Linked DNA regions of Homo sapiens: all the other regions are linked to region 2. Evidence: promoter capture Hi-C in 16 types of primary human blood cells and fetal thymus (Javierre and others, 2016). All regions are on one chromosome and are shown on one strand. The core of a region is centred on a gene start or on the middle of the fragment in contact, and the rest is flanking DNA. Distances in the headings are between cores, read along the strand shown. Region 1 has its middle 110 kb from the start of CYYR1. Region 2 holds the start of MRPL39 (mitochondrial ribosomal protein L39). Region 3 has its middle 130 kb from the start of ADAMTS1.

The links. The method cuts DNA at HindIII sites, captures the fragments that hold promoters and counts their contacts. A CHiCAGO score of 5 or more calls a contact.
Region 1: a contact is called between a fragment that was not itself captured here and the fragment with the promoter of MRPL39 in region 2, in 1 of 17 cell types (fetal thymus). The highest score is 5.0, in fetal thymus.
Region 3: a fragment that was not itself captured here is called in contact with the fragment with the promoter of MRPL39 in region 2 in 4 of 17 cell types (fetal thymus, total CD4 T cells, non-activated CD4 T cells and 1 more); the score reaches 8.3 in fetal thymus.

What each region holds. Positions count from the first base shown.
Region 1 is chr21:26,681,158-26,684,413 of GRCh38, reverse strand. No RefSeq gene overlaps it. Among named protein-coding and RNA genes, the nearest start is that of CYYR1, 110 kb to the right of the region's middle. The HindIII fragment of the contact is 211 bases long and covers 1,743-1,953 here.
Region 2 is chr21:25,606,162-25,609,729 of GRCh38, reverse strand. It overlaps MRPL39 (mitochondrial ribosomal protein L39), which reads left to right and starts at 2,249. Exons shown (of 10, transcript NM_017446.4): 1 at 2,249-2,327; 2 at 3,075-3,281. The coding sequence starts at 2,255. RefSeq lists a silencer at 1,145-1,204 and an enhancer at 2,185-2,304. The HindIII fragment of the contact is 17,691 bases long and covers 1-3,568 here.
Region 3 is chr21:26,718,374-26,721,687 of GRCh38, reverse strand. No RefSeq gene overlaps it. Among named protein-coding and RNA genes, the nearest start is that of ADAMTS1, 130 kb to the left of the region's middle. The HindIII fragment of the contact is 3,282 bases long and covers 294-3,314 here.

The sequences.
Region 1 (3,256 bases), core at 599-3,098, 1.1 Mb before region 2:
GTTTAAAAGTATTTGTATTTAAATGTTTAAAAATGTTTGTGTATTTAAAGATGTATTTGTTGACAAGAGGTAAATAGAAATTTTTAACAGTATGTTGTTGCTGAGGTATTTTCACTTGTTTTTTTTTCCCCAAGGTTTTTTCCAGCTTTATCAATATGTACTTCCCCATTTGTAAACTATCCAAGCAACTTCTAAGACCTGGCAGCAACTCCCTGGCACAATATGATGCAAGGAACACTCCCAGAGGAGAGAATGAAGCAAGTCACCTAAGCCTCCTGGGGATACATTTCATAAAATATTAGATCATGTCTTAGAAAAAAGATCAAGGGTGGCCCAGATCTTTGCTTTCCCTCGAGTGGCTTACGAGCTACAACTTTACCTCTGACTTGTCTATATATACACCCAAAAAAAATTCTGTTCTGGTTTTGCTTTCAAAACGTCTCAGGTTTTCCATTATTTTCCAAAATATGCTGGTTACCCAAATGTAGGACCTCAACTTCCTACTTTGAGTACTGAGGGATAGAATTCCTTAAAACAGTCTTGATTGATCTCTAGACTTACAAACTTCTTCCCCAGACAATCTATCCTGCTGCTAATGTTAAATTTTCAAAAAGGCAAAATTATGATTCTTGTTCAAATATGAAATGAACAAGGATTAAAGTGAGGGAATTAATGGCTGAGACAATCAGTAAGATGTTAAAAGCAGTTCAAGAGAGAACAGAATATATACATATAAATGTATATGTATGGGTATATGTGTGTGTGCTGTGTATATAAAATCAGGAATGCTGAACTGCAGTTGCTAGTAAATGCAAAACTGGTTAATGTCATATAATACAATAAAATGTAAACTTTGGGCTCATCTTTTCTACAGAGAAGGAACCAATTTTTTCTCAAACAATCAAAATTTATTTGCATAGTCACAAATTTTCTACAACCTAACTTCTACCTCTACTCAGCTGCAATATAGCTCAGTCAACAGAAAAACAATCTAAGGTGCGCCTTTCTATACAACCAGATAAACTCATCATTTCACTGAAAAGACACCCAGTAATCACTACTTCACCCATCATCTCTTATAATTACTCTTTACTGCTGTTTCAGCTTTTATAATACAGCCAATGTCATGATCTTCCCTCTGCATCCACATTAATCATTCCAGAATATACCCTCCACTCAACATAGGTCAATTTTTGCCACTTCCTGCACACTTCATAATTTTTCTTCCTGCGCTATCCCAAACTTTCTTCAAAATAATTCAGCCAACCTGTGTGGTAGATGCTTGACAGATAATATGAAGAGATATATTTTCTACCTTCAGGGAATTTACAGTCTAAAATGATCTTTCTCTTTTTCCTCCATGTATTTGCCTCCTCTTGATCAGTCAGTACTCACTATTCACTCTACTCTTGCAAAAAGACTTCTCCAAGTGCACCAGTCAACACTGACTCCTTTTCAATAACTGTGTGACAAATGGATGTGGCATGTGGGCTTTGAGTCCTTGATCAGTTTACAAAAGCATTTAGGACAAAGGTTGTATTTTAGCCTTTTATTTCAAGTAACTTCTACATCTATTACTTTTTGTGTTAAAACTGATAACTGTTACTTTAGATGCAAGGATTGTGTCTAGGGACTCAATGACTTCTGCAATCTTCATGATGAAATGTTTCTGGACCACTTTTGCTATCAAACTTTCTTGATGTAGTTAATTGAGCTTATCTCAATGTATGATTCACAAAGCTTTGATTTCAGACTGACAGCTGTCACATAAATATAGACTCAAATGAGCATAAATTTGCAGGTGCTGATCTATAAAAACATCTGTACTGTGAAGCAAATCACTTATAAAACCTCAACGGAAAAAAAAATTGGAAGAGGAGGTAGGAGTAGTCATAATCCTGGTATTTGATAAAGAGACTACTATCCTTTTAATTCCTTAATTTACTAAAAGCTTCTTACTATACTGATAATCTCATTTTCTGCTACTAAGAATGAGTAGGTAAAAATTATGCATCTCTATGAGGCTGTACATTTCAAAAAAAGAGTAGGAGAAAGTACACTCCCACAGGTTAAAATATTAGCATAAAGCAATTTCACATCCTTGGTTATATTATTATGGGTTTCTACTTGTAACAGTCACACAAAAGAGCCCTCATAAACTGGATCCTGAGTAGTTCAAATATTTTACAATGAAAATAAAATATATGATCTGAATGCAAAATCAAATGACCAACTACCCTTGCACTTTTATGTTGATACCTGTATCATCTTGTTAATAACTTCTGAAAATGAACTTGGTCCAAGCTCTAGTAAGAAAGCTATTTTAAATTAAAATCTCTTTCTCTGTTGTAAAAGTTTCATATTAGGTATGTGCATCACATTACTTTCTAACAGAAACACAATAGTAAGCCAAGTAAAGTCAAATTGCTCGCCACATCAGTTAAAGGTAGATAGATTAGAAATAAAATGATAGTGAATTTGCACTTAGAACTGAATGGACTGGATAATCATCTAATGGCTGCATTATAGTGAGGAAGGGCTTCATTTCCATCTGTTCTTAGAAGCTGATCAGCTTGACTAGATGCTATAAAGGATGAGTCACAGGGCCTGCAGGAAACATAGAACATGTACTCCGAATAAACTTTTTAAAAAATTATCTTCCACTCGCCTTTAATCTCAGCACTTTGGGAGGCCGAGTTCGGCGGATCACGAGGTCAGGAGATCGAGACCATCCTGGCTAACACGGTGAAACCGCGTCTCTACTAAAAATACAAAAAAATAGCCGGGCGTGGTGGCGGGCGCCTGTAGTCCCAGCTACTCGGGAGGCTGAGGCAGGAGAATGGCGTGAACCCAGGAGGCCGAGCTTGCAGTGAGCCGAGATCGCGCCACTGCACTCCAGCCTGGGTGACAGAGCGAGACTCCATCTCAAAAAAAAAAAAAAAAAAAATTATCTTCCTCTCTTCCTAAGATCTCTTCCTCCCACTTTTTGTTTTTATTGTGAGGACTGAAAACAAAGCAAAAAAAAAAAAATACAACTTGAAGTAATAAAAATTAAAGTTATTTTATTTTCTGCCATTTGTTTTGAAGTCACAGACATCTACATTAGTAGCACTTTAACTTCTTATTAAAATGACCAAGCAATGCTTTGGAGCATGTTTCTGAGAGTAAAATACAATTACAGCTGCTAAAAACAATAAAATCAAAGACGTTATGACTGTTTGATTTAAGTGATGAAAGCATTGGAAGATTCAACACC
Region 2 (3,568 bases), core at 1,000-3,499:
ATATCCACCAGATTTCTCCATTGAAAAGTTTCACTTATCCATTTGTATTTTGTCAGTAATATGTGAGGTGATACTTAGAGACTATGTGACTATATCCCTGATCCTCAACAAACTTTCTCTACTGATTTTAGCATCTATTGACGATCCCTTCCTGTACCAATGGTTACATTGGTAGATGCAGAATGGTGATTTTCCCTATTCTATTATTCCTATGACTTTTATTATCTGGCATTCTTTTGTACAGAAAACTCTCTTCACTCTTTCTACACTGATTTATTCTTGAGTGTCATTACGGATTCATGAATTTTTAATATACATGTCATAATATTTCAGCATTATTCTTTTTGTTATGCAAACTCTCCCAAATTTGGACAGCGGGAGGACCTTCGAGCTTGGTCCGCCGTCCTTTTTAACATGTTTCTGTTTGTCTGTATTTTATAGTTAGTTGTAGGCTTTCTGGCACAGTAATGATCCAGGCTTATCTTAGATATTTACTGTTACAGACTTGATACTTTTTATTTGGCAGAGACATTGACAGAGTGAGACTAAGATTTGGGGAGCTGGTTGATAAAGAAGGCAAGATAAAGAAGATTCAGAGTAAGAAAATATTTGGGGGGAATTCTTGGCCAAAGATTTACCTCGGGTATGTCTCTCAAGCTCTTAAAACCTGAATTTCTTTTCCTGGAATATGAAGATTATTATGCCAATTGCTCAGGTAGGTTGTGAAAATTAATAAACCAAGCCCTATGATTGGCACATAGTATTTTTTGGCCATTATCACTAGTGACAACCTTTCAACTAGGTTAATTTCTCATACCGGTGAACTCCAATTACCTGCCTCCAATGGGTTTGTGATCAAACTTGCTTAAGTTTATGTTCAGAGGCTTTGCTTAAATGTGGCTCTAAGATGTTCTAAGGGCACTAGAGTGTTTCTAGGTAAGGTTAAATGGGTACAGGCTCTAAAAGGCCGATGAAACAGACAGCTTTCATGGGAACTGTATGCAAATTTGAGGAAGCAAAAGATACACCCGCCCTCCAACACTATATGTATATATGTACATTTCGTGGTTTGAATTAGGATCTTAAATGAAATGTAGCCTGGTAAAATGTAGACTGGATGTAAATCCAAGCTCCGTCACTTACATTTCCCATTTTAAAAAGTGAAGATACTTACACTTTCCTGGCGCAGTGGTTGTGAGTGTAACATTTGGGCCAAGGAGACGGTCGATCTATCGTGGCGCAGGGTCATATTTGTACCTTAGGCGGCACTTCCACCTGGTGGCGGCGCATTCCAATTGCAAGGCAAAGGACAGAGTGGGGGAAAGGCTGAATTCGACACCCTTAAGTAAAGCCACAGAATTAAACTACTGTAAATGAAAATATTTCCATCCTGTACCTACAGAGTGCTTACTTCAAATAACACTCACGTCCTGGTAGGACAGAAAAATTAGACAATGAGCTGAAGTTTGCCTGCAAGGGCATTCATTCATTCATTCATTCAAGAAACATCTGTTGAGCGCTGACTGCGCTGTGCTCTGTTCTGGGCGCTTGGGATACATCAGTGAACTAGAGACAAAAATTCTGCCCCGGGATGCCTTCTCCTATACATCCTATACTATATAAACTAAACTAGAAAATTTGTAAAGAGCTCTTAGGAATTACAACGTCCTCTCCAAAGTCAAGGGGACGTGTTCCGAGGCCTCTATTACCACAGCTAAGGGGAGAACCGGGGTGCAGACCCACTCCAGCCGAACTAAGAACCTACCCGGCACAATTGAAAGTTAAGCCACGCGCTAGAGGATGTCATCGCTGACAAAATAGAAGACGCCTTCCCCATTCCCCCCCACCCCCGCCCCCGCCAAGAAAACCATATATTCTTTTAGGGAAGCAAGCGCTTCACCTGGGTGGCCGGGATCGAACCCGCGGAGGGCTGAAGGCGGAGGGCAACGACGCCTGTGGAACTCTGTTTCCCTGCAGAGCCTACGTGGTGGGCGGCAGGCCGACCGCCCTGGGGGCCCTGCACCTCTGGGTAGGTGACCGCGCCCAGGTATCGAGCACAGGTAACGCGCCCCGGCTCCGAGTCTCGGGGTCTCAGCCACTGAATCCCCAGCGAGGCCTGACGCCCCCCGGTGGAGGCGAGCAGTCTGAGTGCTGGGTCCGGAACAGACCTGTCCTGCGGAACTCCGAGTGCGCGTTCGGTTTCCGGGGGAGGAGGGCGGAGAAGGACTTGCGCGCGACGGTTCTCACCGCTGCTATGGAGGCGCTGGCCATGGGTTCCCGGGCGCTGCGGCTCTGGCTGGTCGCACCCGGTGGCGGGATCAAATGGAGTGAGTTTCAGAGGCCGTAGGGACAGGGAGCGAGGCCTAGATAGTGGTGTCTGTCTAGATTGGGTCTGAGGCGGGGCCGGGGAGGTCCCGCGGGGCAGAGGAAGGAGGAGGGTTTCTTAGTCCCTCCGCGGCGGTCGCTCTTGCACAGCTTGGGAGGACTAATTTATGGGAACGAGGGTCTGGCGGAGGGCAGGGGCAAGGGCAGGGGTCGGGGCCAGGGGTCGGAGCCAGGCCGCGGGAGGAGCTTGGGCCCGCCTCTGGGAAGCAGCGCACGTTCCGTGCACATCTGTCCATGTCTTCCCAAGGAATACTCGTACTTGCCTTGGCAGGTTCCCTGATTTGGCCTTTGGGATATAAACTCAGCATTTCTCATTCTGGATATTGATAGTTTCGGTGTGGGACCTTTGGTTTCCTGAAATTTTCTTGTTTTTCTTCAGACCCTGTCAAACCGACCACTTTGTTCACCTTCCCAATGACTCTAGTCCAGTTTTGACTCCGTTTCCTGGTTACTTTTTGCCCCTTATTGTAAAGCACTGATTGGAAACACGACACAGGAAATTGGTGGGAAATAGCGATCTGATGTGAAAGAGCCAAATTTAAAAGTAGAGGCACGTATCTGGGCCAGCTCTGTTTCTTCCGCTGGTGTTTGTTAATATTACAAATTGGTTTAATTTTACCTCTGAGCGCACTTTTGGCAGTACGTTAATCATTTTTTCAGTCTTCATATTTATTGTAACTTCTCCACAGGATTTATAGCAACATCGTCAGCTTCTCAGCTGTCACCGACAGAATTGACAGAAATGCGGAATGATCTCTTTAATAAAGAGAAAGCCAGGCAGTTATCATTAACTCCCCGAACTGAGAAGATAGAAGTTAAGCATGTTGGGAAAACTGACCCCGGTACTGTCTTCGTGATGAATAAAAACATTTCAACTCCCTACAGTTGTGCCATGCGTAAGTAGCAGAATCAGGTTACAGTTTTGACCCTTTTACTTAAGCTGTGTGGAAGCACTGGTGCAGGAGACAGGATGCTGTAATTACTTCTGGTCATCTGTGGCCATGGCAATCCCTTTATACCAAAATCCTTTCTTGAGACCTGCATGGTGACTGCTCCCACCACATCACAGACCTAGCTAAAAAGAGCAAGCAAATCCCAGCTACTTGGGAGGCTGAAGCAGGAGGATAGCTTGAGGCCAGAAGTTCAAGACCAGCCTGGGCACCATAGCCACCCTGTCTCTCAA
Region 3 (3,314 bases), core at 685-3,184, 1.1 Mb before region 2:
ACACAAGCAAACATTAACAAATAAATTTTCTTTATCTTTTGTGTTACAAATGTAACTATTAAAATTACAACAGAAACCAAATAACTTCCAAGTTTTCACGATTAAAAAATAAATGCCATGGGCACTTAATAGATTGCTTTAGCTTCTAATAACAATGAAACATTTATCTAAAATATCTATAATAAGGGCCTCAGAAGACTTCATGAATATTATCTTAATTTTATTCTTGCAACATCCAAACGGAAGTGCAGTTGTCAGGTATTTTTTGATAAATACGTTGCAAAGCATAAGCTTTTGAAATAAAGGAGGTGACTTATTAAAATGTTCTAAGAATATCTGATTTACAGATGACTTTTCTTTTTTTTTTTGAGATGGAGTCTGGCTCTGTTGCCCAGGCTGGAGTGCAGTGCCGTGATCTTGGCTCACTGCAACCTCTGCCTCCCAGATTTAAGCAATTCTCCTGCCTCAGCCTGCCGAGTAGCTGGGATTACAGCCACACACCACCATGCCTGGCTAATTTTTGTACTTTTAGTAGAGACAGGGTTTCACCATGTTGGTCAGGCTGGTCTCGAACTCCTGACCTCAGGTGATCCACCCACCTCAGCCTCCCAAAGTGCTGGAATTACAGGCGTGAAACACCATGCCTGGCCTACAGATAACTTTTGATGTGGAGAAAATGAATAGGTATCTGATACTCAGCTCATGGCTTAATTGCAAGTACCTAGATTAAGTAAGCAATTGTGATTGCCTCCTAACTTTAAAAAAAAGTTGCATAATATAAATCATATACGCTATCTTTGTGTTTAGCTTCTCATTACGAGTCATGTTTCTATGTCTTATTATTTCTTAAAGTCCCACTGAGATCCTAACAGACTGTAACAGAAATGCATGTTACATGTAGCTGAGCATTTAAATTCAATATCAGTTATACATTTGAAAGAAAATTAGCATCCATTAGTTCACATAAAAATGAGCGTCTTTCCACCAAAACTTTAGACATTTCTTAATGATTTGCCCTGTTATACTATAAATTCCTGCAATCAAGTGACCTTATCTCATTCCTCTTGGTGTCTTCCTACAATATTCCTGCCAATACTTACATTAGATCAATTCTGCCGATAACTTCAGAATCTAGAAAGGTCAACTTTATTTCTTTACATGCTTCTTCTAAATCTGCTCCTTTTCCTTTAGCATTTTCATGATGTCTCCTAACCAACTGTTAACCTGTAACTGAGATGGTCTTTCTTTTATTTTTACTTCTAATTCTTACCTACCCATTTGAAATGAACCTGTTAAAATGGTTGTCCCTGAAGTAGCATTTCCCTTTACATCCTACAAAGATCCACAGCTTCTACTAGAATTATCGGAGTGTTTGTGCATGTATGTATGTGTGTCTGTGCGTGCGTGTATGTGTGTATATGTGCAAATTATCTTTCCAGTTTGGAAGGCTGGTGGTTGCATGTAGGCATATATTTTCATAGGCTCTCATTTCCTGAGGCTTTACCATTTGCTTTAGAGATTAGGGAATGCCCATTCCAAAAATAGCCAAGTTCTTGGTGCATAAAGGATGTTTTTATCTGCCAGCCACCACTGCCCAGGCTGCAGTTCAGGCTTTCTCTTCTTCCTGTCCTCCCGCTCCTCATGTCTTTGCCAGTGTGCCAGAGCTCTGTGGGTGGCCCGCTGTCATCACTCTGCACCTGTCCCAATTAGCAGGCCTGAGACGCCGCCAAGGCAGCTTGCGTGCTGTGGACTAGTGCGTTGTGTGACCTCATGGCTGGCAAGGCAGCGGCTCTATGGTATGTGGTGTCTAGACGCCATTTGTTGGGCCTGCCCGGTGGGCAAAAGCTGTGTGTGGTATTGGAGGTTTCCCACAGCTGTGTTCACAGGCTGAAAAAGACTCACCAGAGGCTGGACAGCTGGGACCAGGTCATCCATCTCAGTGCCCTCAGAGTTCATCACGGGCCTGACACATGATAGGTGTTCATAGATCTTTGTTGAAATTACAGTGGTTTAGGGCAATATTGATTTTCAACTGTTGCCACAAAATCTGGGAGAGTGTTGAGATGAAGAACATGAATGCTGGAGGCAGAAGGACCCTGGGTTCAAATTCTGACTTTGCCACTTTCCAGCCATATGACATTAGGGAGGTGTGACAATGACCCCATGTCTCAGTTTCCTTATATTTTATGGGGACACTAGTAGCCCCATCTTATAGAGTTGTGATTATTAGAACAGCTTATTCTTGAATAGCTCTTAACACATAACCAGGCATGTGCCTAAGGCTCTAGAGATGCTACACTTTTCATAATCACCACATTTCATCTGCAGTCGCCCGCCAGCCTGCCCACTGTCATCATTTTCTCATTCTGATGTTCTACATATGTGACATACCTTAAACACTACCTTTTTTTTTTTTTTTTTTTTGAAACAGAGTCTCTCCCTGTCGCCCAGGCTGGAGTACAGCAGCGCGATCTCGGCTCACTGCAACCTATGCCTCCTGGGTTCAAGCGATTCTCCTGCCTCAGCCTCCTGAGTAGCTGGGATTACAGGCGCGTGCCACCACACCTGGCTAATTTTTTCTTTTTTTCTTTTTTTTTTTTTTTGTATTTTTAGTAGAGACGGGGTTTCACCATGTTGGTCAGGCTGGTCTCGAACTCCTGACCTTGTGATCTGCCCACCTCAGCCTCCCAAAGTGCTGGGATTACAGGCATGAGCCACCATGCCCGGCCTAAACACTGCTTTTAAAATATTACTAGTAAATGAATTCAGCAAAACTATTTCTTTCTCTTTCTGTGTTAAAGGTTTTAAACTGGCTGTTAGGAACATGTTCCCTGAGATGGGGCATTACCGTCTTCATCCTCTTTGCAAAGACAGGGGGAAGGGACTAGGAGGCCTGGGACTTCCTTCTGAATCTTCTACTTTCAAGGAAAGGACAACAAAATACACAAATGTTAATAGACCACACACCTTTCTCCTTAAATTCAGGAGGTCTAGTGTGACTCATTTTGCTGTCAGAAGCTATTTTACTGAAGGTAGAAAACAATAAAATGCAATGGTGATATAATTTGGATATTTGTTCCCTCTCAAATCTCATGTTGAATTGTAATCCCCAGTGTTGCAGGTGGGGCCTCGTGGGAGGTGTTTGGATCATGGATGTGGATTTCTCATGAATGGCTTAGCACCAGCCTCTTGGTGCTCTTGTCGAGATACTGAGTGAGTTCTTGTGAAATCTAGTTGTTTAAAGGTATGTGGCACCTCACCCCCGACTCTCTCTCTCTCCTGTTCTGGCCATGTGCCTGCTCCTGCTTTGCCTT